Regions from separate parts of the Homo sapiens genome. Here region 2 is linked to region 1. The links are contacts of gene promoters, found by promoter capture Hi-C in human tissues and cell types (Jung and others, 2019). All regions are on one chromosome and are shown on one strand. Each heading gives the region's core, a stretch centred on a gene start or on the middle of the fragment in contact. The rest is flanking DNA. Distances are from core to core; before and after follow the strand shown.

Region 1 (5,218 bases), core at 1,907-4,406:
GAGCAACCCTAACTCAGTCTGCCCTGCAAAGGTGGGTACAGCCCCTGATCCACACGAACTGCTGGAAGAAAAATCCAAAGAGAAAGTCAGTGAAGACGTTTGTAGAAAGAACTGTTGAAGAAGGAATAAGAAACTGCCATTTTTCCTGTCAGTGTCTGCTAATAAGTAATAATAAAATAACAATGATAACTCATAATGATAATGATAGTATTATTGAGCTCATGTGTAGGCACTGTATTAAGTACCATTCATTATATTCTTTAATCCTTGCAACATCCCCATGAGGCATTATTATCCCCATTTTACAGGTGAGAAGGCTGAGGCCCAAGAAGGTTAAGTATCACAAGATAAACCAGCTAGTAAGTGGCTGGGTTCCTAGAGTGGTGAGTGTGGCTCCCTTTGCCAGACTGGGAAACAGACACCATAAGAGCCATCTTCCCTCCAAAAGAGGGCCAGCCCTTGACCAAGATGGACAACAGGGTTCCACACTCCTGAAACCCACTGCTTCAACCATCATGGCATCAGATAAGAAACCGACCTAGTCTGATCCTCTTATTTGGCTGGCAGCTGTGGCACCTGAAGGTCTGAGTTCAACTTCTGCCATTAAACTTCTCTGATGAGCAAACTGGGAAACCAATGCATGGGGCTCCCACATAGCACTGGCAAGTGAACAAATGAACTTGGGACATATGTGCTGGGGTCCAGGTCACAAGCATGTCCCTTGTGGGAGGCAACATTTGGTTGAATATAAGTTCTTACCACATTCTATGGCCCAAGGCTCCCACTTGCCAAACTCTCTGGCATAGGTGTTCCCGTGGGTCACAAATGACAGACCCAACCGCAACTTCCAGGACATGCATGCTTTGAGTGCACCCAGCAGGGGGCATCCTTGCCCTTCCACTGCCCACCCTGGAGGGGTGAGACTGGCCCACTGCAGGGTTGCCCTCTACCCAGCTCAGCCCAGGAGCCCAAGGCCACATTTCCCAAACGGGGCATTCATGTAACTACCCTGATTTTCTCTACTATTATTTACATAACATTTTTCTTTGTCAACACAAATTTTCAAACCTAAATGTATTTTTAAAAGCAAAAAGCTCTTTGATGAAGATTTTCCGCTCTCCTGACTGCCTGGATTTTCTGCATTTTTGGAGCTAGCTTTGCAGGAGGTCAGGATGTGAGCAGGAGAGTACAGGCCCCCACTGAAGCTACAGTTGTGGTCCCAAGAACAGTGCAGGCAGTGACATCACTGAGTAAAGATGGGCAAGGCTTTGTTCTGTGGATTCGGAGCTGGAGATGGAAAGGAACAGAGTGAGGAGCCCTGAAATCCTGAAATGAGGAGAGGAGGCTGTCCCTTTCCTCCTCAGGCTGAGGGGGAGGAATGGACTGGTCTCTCCAGGCCCAAAGTGGAGAGGGGGCTGATGGCTACAGGACAGATGAAAGGGAGGGACTTGGGTGCCGGGACCAGGGCAGCCGCAGGTGACAGGTGCAGGGGCTTTGGGAAGGGACAGGGATTTCCCTTGCAAAATCCATTCAAACAGATATCGAGGGAACCTGATCCCAGGGAGGAACCCAGAACAGCATGGGCTGCCAGAGGGGCCCCCAGAAGGGCCCCAGACTGGAGGGAGGGAGAGAGGAGAGATGACGCTAAGGGACTGGGGGAAACGAGGAAGAAGAGTCCTCTGAATTGTTACCATTTCCAGAGGCTTGGTCAGGCCCTGCTCCGGCTCCATCCCCCGGCCCTAGAATTGCTCTTCTGCAGATTATTTCTGTGCTGGGAATTCCCTTAGCTCCAGCCTCCACTGGGCAGTTTATTATCTTAATTCCGCATGAAGAGTGTCCTCCCTCACCCTCCACCCTGCCCTGGACCAGACCTCCAGCCGCGACAATTCTAGGGCCTGGGTGAGGGTCTTACCGTTGTTGGGGGTATGCAAAGCCCCATGGGGGGGTGACCCAGGGCAAAAGGCCAGGCCCCAGAGGGGAAGGAAGTCTTGGGTAGAGCTCCCTGCCTCCCAGGCTGGGCTAAGAAGGGCGATAAGAGGAGCAGATTAGGCAAGAGGAAGTGGGCTGGGCTGAGCTGGACTGGTGCTGAACTCCCTGGGCCTGGGGCAGAGTGTGGGTCAGGCACCTGAGCAGCTGGGGCTGAGCCTGGCCAACCAGAGCAGCCATCCCTCCGCCCCAGCCCCGCTGCAGGCTGGGGTACACAGCAGAGGCGGGCACACGGAGGAGAGAGGAGAGCGCAGTGGAGGCAGGGGCTAGGGCTGCTCAGTGGGGGTCCAGGCCTCAGGCAGTCCCAGAGGCCCAGAGGTGGGAGTCTGGTGAGGTGGGTGAGGGGAGTGATTGCCTTGCCTCATGTGCCCCTCATTTTCTTTCTTTTTTTATTTTTTTCGAGATGGAGTCTTGCTCTGTCGCCCAGGCTGGAGTGCAGTGGCGCCATCTCGGCTCATTGCAAGCTCCGCCTCCTGGGTTCATGCCATTCTCCTGCCTCAGCCTCCCGAGTAGCTGGGACTACAGGCGCCGCTGCCACGCCCAGCTAATTTTTTGCATTTTTAGTAGAGACAGGGTTTCACCGTGTTAGCCAGGATGGTCTCGATCTCCTGACCTCGTGATCCGCCCGCCTCGGCCTCCCAAAGTGCTAGGATTACAGGCGTGAGCCACCGCACCCGCCCGCCCGGCAGGTGCACCTCATTTTCATGGGGGAGGAAGCATTGAGAAAGAGGAGCCGTGTGTTCAGCAAACTTTGCTTATTCAAAACACTCCATTCCAGCTGGGCCCTGTCCCCACCCCACCCCTGCCTCTACGGTGCTCCCAACCTTTGGGGTCAGATGCCCATGCTCTGGACCCTTCCCCTGAGGAGGTCCTTTCTCCTAGTGAGCTCCCTGTGCCTTCCCTCAGTCCAGGCCTGGGCAGCAGTCTCCCCAGCTGGTCTCCATGTCGTCCTTCTCCAGCCCTCCTGGGCCAAATCTGACCAGAGACCACCACAGGGACTGAGAGGCCCTGGCTCCAAGGCGACCCGGCCTCATGACCACGTCTCCGCTGTGAGCAGCGCAGAGAAGGAAGCCCAGAGCAGGAAGTGCTGAGAGGCACAGGGTGGGGCTGGGGGTGGGGGCGGGGGCCTCCAGAAGAGGCGGGGGCTTCCTGCTTCAGCCTCCTTGGGCAGAAGCAGTGACCACAGGCCCCCATGGCAGGCAGGGCGGGTGGGAGGAGGGTGATTTACAAGGCAGATGGGCCTCTGGCTACAGCTCAGTCCTGCACTCAGCCAGGGCCACCCCAGGGGCTATAAGAGCAACTAGATTTCTGGAGCAGCTCGGGGATGGGTGCCATTTGAGCCCAGCTTGGCTCCCCCTCCTGGCTGGCCTCCTTCCTGCCCTTCTGCCTGCCTGTGTCTGCTGAGATTCTGCAAAGAGGAACGCTTGGCACCATGTCTCTGCTCAACCCTGTCCTGCTGCCCCCCAAGGTGAAGGCCTATCTGAGCCAAGGGGAGCGCTTCATCAAATGGGATGATGTAAGTGGGGCAGGGGCCTCAGCTGCTGGAGCACCAGGTGGTGGGGGCCGGGCTGCTACGGGGCTTTGCTTGGGTGGGAGGATTGGTTTATGTCTCCTAGGATCCAGGCGCCTGTGTGGTTTGGCCAGGCAGCTGACACCACTGCTTGGATAAACAAACCTGGGATTAAGGGTGTATGTCCCCAGCTAAAGGGCTAAGCCTTGGTTCTAGGTGTGAGAAGTGGGTGAGCTGCCTGGGTGGTCACTGGAGGTAGTTTATTTGGGTCTGCTTCTCTTCTCCTTCAAACCCCCAAGAGAAGAGGAGGAAAGTGCACCCCAGAGCTGAGGCAGGCTAGGAGGAGAGGTGAGCTCGTCCCCGCTCCCAGCACAGATGTCTTGCCCTTGCTCCGGCAGGGCGCTCAGACCCAGCTCCTTCACCCCCTCCACTGGGCATCATCCTGTCCAGGGAAGCCTTGCTCTCCCCTGCGCTGCTGTGGGGGCAGCCACAAAAGGCCCCTGGACCTAAGTGAGAACTAGAGGCTTCTGCTCCCAGGGAAGGAGCTGATTTGACTTCTGCTACCCCTTGCTGGGCTCAGCATTGCTCCCCGATGCAGGCCTGTCAGCAAGGGAAGGGGAAGACACTGCTGCACCCTGCAGCCCTCTCTCTGCTGTGTCTGTTCCTTCCTACACGGGGCTGCTCCCAGGCTCTGGTTCTCCTGGCCCCTGAAAATGTTACCTTAGGCCAGGGATTCTCTTAGGCTGGAGAGAACAATATGGAGATTCTCCTTCAGGGAGGGGAGGCTGCTGGGCTCGCCCAGTCTGAGAGTTAGAGTGCTGGGCTTGTCCCAGGAAGGGAAATGAAGGCTTGGTGGGGGAGGGAAGACAGCCCTTAGTGCTGACTTGTCCACCTGATGGGAGGTGGGATGAGGGGGTCTGGGTCTAGGCCCTTCGGGGCTGGGCTAGGCTAGGGGATCTCGCTGCCCATGACTATGGGTTGGGGCCCTGTGGTGAGATGCTTCCTGCTTCCCTAGGAGTGATGTGGGGTTGGTGTAGCATGGCAGTGGCATGGAGGTGACATGCCCCAGGAGCCTGTGGAATGAGGGAAGTGGCTCAGAATGAAAAGCGAAGTGGCCTCTCTCAGTTCCTCTGGGCAGTGTGTGTAACCTGACTGGGCAGAGGGTCACAGGGTGGCAGTGGAGGTCGGGGGTTGGTGGCCAGCGGAGACTGTCCTTCTTCCTAAGCTGGCACCTGTGTACCTGGCTGTTCCCTTCCCCTCTCCAAGGTAGGGCATTGGATGTTCTCTGGATCCTGACCTGCACAAGCAAGAATGTCCCAAGCCTATCCACAGGTCCATGCTGCTGTGAGACAGGGCTCTGCTTTCAGGCTGCTTTTGGCACAGTTAGTGGATGGCATGGGTGTGCTGTGCCATGTTGAATAAGCAGAATACATAGGATGTAAGCAAATCCCAACTTTATTTCATCTCCCATGGCCTCTTTACAATATATTTGGTAGGAGAAGCTCTCCCCCTGGCCATGGAAAGAAACTCTGCAAGGCCACAAGACATTATATTTACTCTCAGGTAACACAGTCCAGTGGTCACTTTTCATCACAAAATCCAGTCCGATGTCAGAAACTGGCTATAATCAAAACTCCAACCTTTATTTACACTGACATCTTCTACCCTTCTCCTTCTAGGAATGGTTTCAGGTAGGCTGCAGGCCCCCTGGAAAGGGCCTTG
Region 2 (5,218 bases), core at 1,223-3,722, 120 kb after region 1:
CCTGAGCACTTAGGCAGAATTTTTGCTCAAAATCTTAATTATTATTTTTGCATTCCTAGCATGTAGTGGGAGTTATAAATTAGTTATGAGGTAACTCTTGCACTGGGACAGAATTCAACCTAGTATTAGGACTAGGGCTGGGCGCAGTGGCTCACGCCTGTAATTCCAGCACTTTGGGAGGCCAAGGCGGGCGGATCACTAGGTCAGGAGATCGAGACCATCCTGGCTAACACGGTGAAACCCCGTGTCCACTAAAAAAAAAAAAAAATTAGCTGGGCGTGGTGGCAGATGCCTGTAGTTCCAGCTACTTGGGAGGCTAAGGCAGGAGAATGGCGTGAACCTGGGAGGCAGAGCTTCCAGTGAGCCCAGATCGCACCACTGCACTCCACACTCCAGCCTGGGCGACACAGCGAGACTCCATCTCAAAAAAAAAAAAAAAAAAAAAAAAAGAACTAGGCAATGTTAAGCATTAGACTAAATCTCAGGCTGGCTTGTTTATTTAACCACCAGCTACTATACTTTTTCTTAAAAACAGAAATGCTAAGGATTAGGAAGAAAGAGGAAAAATATGTCCAGAAGGAAAAAGCAGGATAAGAGGGAAAACTATCATAATTTCTCATTACTATCAATGACAAAATGAGAACGTCTCATTTAAATCACATTATCTTTTCCCTACATCCCCATTATCCCATCAGACAAATCTTCTAACTCTACTGCTGAAGCCTCTCCCATCCAAGCTCCCTTCTCCTTTCATTACCACTACCCTGCCCAAATACCGCCCCTTAATATCCTTGCCTGAACTATTCCAATAGCTTATTTATGTATGTTCAATCCATCTTCCAGAATAGCCACCATTGATTTTCCTAAAGCAATGTTCAGTAATGAAAATATAAACCTAATTAATGTTTATTCCTTAATAAAATATTAACAAATGGTCTTTTAACCCTAACATACTCAAAGGAATACAAACATAAAGGATATACAAAATTTTGTCTGGTTACTTTTTTTTTTAATAAATAGAGACAGGGTCTCACTAGGCTGCCCAGGCTGGTCTTGAACACCTAGGCTCAAGGGATCCTCCTGCCTCAGCCTGTGCTGGGATTACAGGTGTGAGCTACTGCGCCTGGCCTGGTTACTTTCATCTTCATAAAGAAGAAACTGCCTTTGGGAAGTAGAATAGGTGCCTCTGCCCACCCTTAATAATTCCCACTTCAAAATATCCAAAAACCACACTCACATAACTGGCTGTCGTGCAGTCTCTTCCACATATGGAGTGAAACTGGGAAGCACAGCGGGTACAGCTATCAGTGAAGCTGTATTGCCACGAGGCTGGAGATGAAGAAGAAAACTAAAATTACCATAGTTTTATGTTCTCAGACAGCATATATAGACCATGGCTAAATATTCAAGAGGAATTAAAAGAGATGGTAAAAATACTTCTCTACCCTAAATGTGAAGTCTTTGTTGTGTCAGCAAAGCACTGGATCTAAGAGTCCTTACCCTGTGTTCCAAGGACCTGCCTGTGTTCCAAGGGCCTGCTTGCAGCTCATTCTCTTTGGCCCTGGGCATGGGGGGTGCTATCCATGGCTGGACTGTAGGCTTAGACAACTCTGCTGTAGAAGCCTCATCAGCATTTTCATCAAAAACAGTAATTCTACTATTATTTTGCATCTGTTGAGGAAATGGATTTTGGAGTCCTCTGTTCTGGCTTGGAGCTAGGAGCAAAAATATTAAAACCTCATGTAAAATGTTTCATTATTAACTTAGATGCCAGATAAAGTATACCTATTCTTCCTCAACTCAAGGACAGTATTTCCACTACAACAGAAAAAAAAAAAGAAATTTTAAAAATAATCTTTAAAAAAATTAATAAATCAAAAATAGAATCGTTTTATCCATTCTTTGTTACTTATATTCTGCCTTCTTTTCCCTCCTCCAGTCACCCCACATCTTTTATTCACAAATTTCCAAAAAAGACATTCTGCATCTTCCTTCAGTCATCATTATAACATTATCTAGTTTTATCAGAAACTAACCTAAGTTTTATTCTTCAGTTTTAAATTTTCTCTCAATGGAAATCAGCAGAGATATACTGGAACTAGAGAATACAAAATTAACCCATTTATTAGGGGTTTTCTCTGTTGTGGGGCTGGTTATTAACCAAGCTTCATCATGATCTGGATGAAATAGCCTTTGGGACCATACACTCCCTATATCCTAATTCTAGAACCACCAAGTAACATTCTGATTATTGATAAATTGATACCAGGAAAGAAATAAGAGATTAAAAAAACAGCCTGGTTTACATGTCTAACTGCTATAAATTTAGTAAATAAAAGCTTATTATTCTCTGTACCTTCTGCTCAATTTTGCTATGAACCTAAAACTACTCTAAAAAATAGTCAGTGTTGTCCAGATGCAGTGGCTCACACCTATAATCCTAGCTACTTGGGAGGCTGAGGCAAAAGAACTGCTTGAGCCTAGGAGTTTGAAGCTGCGGTGAGCTATGATTGCACTACCACGTTTCAGGCAACAGAGCGAGAACCTATCTCTCAAAAAAAAAAAAAGTCCATGTTAATTAAAAAAAATTATTGCTGATCTTTGGGTATATAGAGAGTCTAATTTCTGGTCCCAAAGGGCTCTGAAGGCAGGGTTCTTAACCATATTAGTATCATTCTCTGAGGCTTTGGTATATGTAAGCTTCACTTTAACAACACCTGCTATGTTACTACATATCTTCTTTCAACTAACAATTCAAACTCAGAAAATCTTGATGCTTCCTAAATGTTAGGTCTTTCTTAATTAAGACACAAAATTACTGATGCATTTTGATTTTACTGCACACTGTAATATTAGCTCTCCTTTGACTTCCTTCTTTTTGCTACTCAGTATTCAGCAAACTAGAAGTGTCCACAGGTATATTTATGTATTATCTTCTTACATGATTTTACCACTAGAAACTAACAGTTTTCCGAAATAACGTTTAACAAACTTACCCTTGAGAGCACCTCCTACACGGATGATTGGAGCTCTTGCTGTCTTTTTCCCTTTGCTCTTTAGTTCAGCTAGTGTGCTTCGTTGTGGTACAGAAGACTCAAAAACTTCCTCCTCTTCTTCTTTCTCAAGTGCCAACAGAGTTTGCCGAGACACTCGAGCTTGGAATTGTCTAAAGTAGCAGAATGCACAACTTTTAGTGAGGTGACCACTATTTTACCAGACTCAAAATTTCCAATTTGTTAAAGTAAACAAATTAGAAGAGCAGGCTGGGGGAAGAATGCAGAAATATCCCAAAGAACATGTTTATTCTCTCAGAAGTAAAGAGAGTCACCTTAAGATCATGAAAAGTTTTGGCTAGAATTATTTAACTCTCCCTTTAAATGCCCAAGTTTGACCAATTTAAATTATTCTGAAAATCACCATTAAGTTGATCTGAGGATCAGGTTAGGGTTATTAAGACTAAGATCACAGAGTTTATTAAGATTAGAGTTTTCCCACTAACTTTTTATTAGAAAACTTGACCCACCAATTGTTAACACTGTGCCACATCTATTTTATCACTGTGTCTCTTTTTCTATACACATGCATGCGCGCACGTGCACGCACACACATATACGGTTTCTCCTGACCTATATGAAATGAAGTTGCATATGACATGACATTGTACTTTAGCAAAGCTGGCAGAAGTTTGAAAAGTAAACTTCCTATGCTGCTGCCACAGTTTTAAGTATTATCAGAAGAGATTCTCCATTCCTACCACTGCTTCATTTAACTAGCCTTAAAAAGTATTATCATAAGGGTAAAAAAAACCCCAAAAAACCCAGAATAAATTGCAGGTGTTGGCCAAGATGGAGTATGCCCACTGTACCTTTTCTCTTTCTCTCACTGATAGGAATTAAAAACTATAGACCATATACAAAAAAAGCAACTAACTGAGGGCTCTGAAAAGTCAACAAAAGCAAGCAGACTGTGGAGAGGGGTCAAAACTTGAAGAAACAACCCACGCAGGATTGTTTCCTGTTTTTTTATTCTTCTATTTTCTCTTGTGGTTTTGAACTGTTGCAGTGGTGGTATGTGAATGTAAAACTCAGAGAAACCCCATCTTTCTGGCCTGAGGACTGGGAAAAGAGGACTCTGAAGGCCAAAGAATATGGGAGGAGAACTGCAAAGGAATGAGCTGAACAAGAGGATCTCCTAATTCTGTATGTGAATTGGCATACATCTTAGGTTCCCTCTTGAGCTATGCATGCACAGGGTAGATTCAAAGCAGCACAGAAAAGGCTTTGAGAACTGAACAATGATATAAACCACTGCCCAAGCCCCAGATTAACCCTTAAGCAGGACATGCATGGGACAGACCCAAAGCAACACAGCAAAGGTCTTGAAAACTGAACTGACAGTGGAACCAACAGCCACACAAGATGACAAAGAACTTGTAATATCTGAAGTGTGGTTGTCTACTAAGACAAAAACATAGATATTCTCCAGGGAATATTGGCCAACAGGATCAGAGTCTTATAACATATGGTCAGGATAAATGTCCAGGGTACAAGAATTACTTGACACACAAAGAACTAGAAAAATGTGACCAACTTTCAAAGGAAAAAACAATAAGCAAATGCAAACATAAAATGACCCAGATGGTATAGTTTTCAGATGGAGATTTTATTTTGTTTTTTGAGATGGAGTCTCATTCTGTCACCCAAGCTGGAGTACAGTGGCACAATCTCGGCTCACTACAACCTCTGCCTCCTGGGTTCAAGCGATTCTCCTGCTTCAGCCTCCCGAGTAGCTGAGATTGCAGGCACCCACAACCATGCACAGCTAATTTTTGCATTTTTAGTAGAGACAGAGTTTCACCATATTGGCCAGGCTGGTCTCAAACTGCTGACCTCAAGTGATTCCCCCGCCTTGGCCTCCCAGCGTGTTGGGATTACAGGCGTGAGCCACTGTGCCCAGCCTGGAGATTTTAAAGTACCTAATATAACTATGTTCCATGAGATGAAGGTAAAAACATTTGAAATGAATGGAGAGACAGAAATTCTCAACAGAGAAACAGAAATTATAAAAAAGAATGAAACAGAAATTTTAGAATTGAAAAATACAGTATCTGAAATAAAAAATTTATGTTGAATGGTTTCAATAGCAGGATGGAGATGGAAGAGAAAAGAATAAGTGAACCTGAAGACAGAGCAATAAAAATGGGCCAATCTGAAAAACA

Evidence for each region. The method cuts DNA at HindIII sites, captures the fragments that hold promoters and counts their contacts. A contact is called where the count stands out against the background at its distance.
Region 2: a fragment that was not itself captured here is called in contact with the fragment with the promoter of PLCB2 in region 1 in 2 of the 25 tissues and cell types used here (lymphoblastoid cells and thymus).

The regions. Positions count from the first base shown.
Region 1 is chr15:40,305,873-40,311,090 of GRCh38, reverse strand. It overlaps PLCB2 (phospholipase C beta 2), which reads left to right and starts at 3,156. Exons shown (of 32, transcript NM_004573.3): 1 at 3,156-3,502. The coding sequence starts at 3,419. It overlaps LOC112268152 (a long non-coding RNA gene), which reads left to right. Exons shown (of 3, transcript XR_002957721.2): 3 at 309-1,054. RefSeq lists a silencer at 823-1,026. The HindIII fragment of the contact is 11,638 bases long and covers 1-5,218 here.
Region 2 is chr15:40,181,662-40,186,879 of GRCh38, reverse strand. BUB1B (BUB1 mitotic checkpoint serine/threonine kinase B) reads right to left here. Exons shown (of 23, transcript NM_001211.6): 6 at 2,997-3,166; 7 at 1,501-1,715; 8 at 1,238-1,329. The region is part of intron 1 of LOC107984763 (a long non-coding RNA gene); the gene reads left to right. Among named protein-coding and RNA genes, the nearest start is that of BUB1B, 23 kb to the right of the region's middle. The HindIII fragment of the contact is 4,788 bases long and covers 79-4,866 here.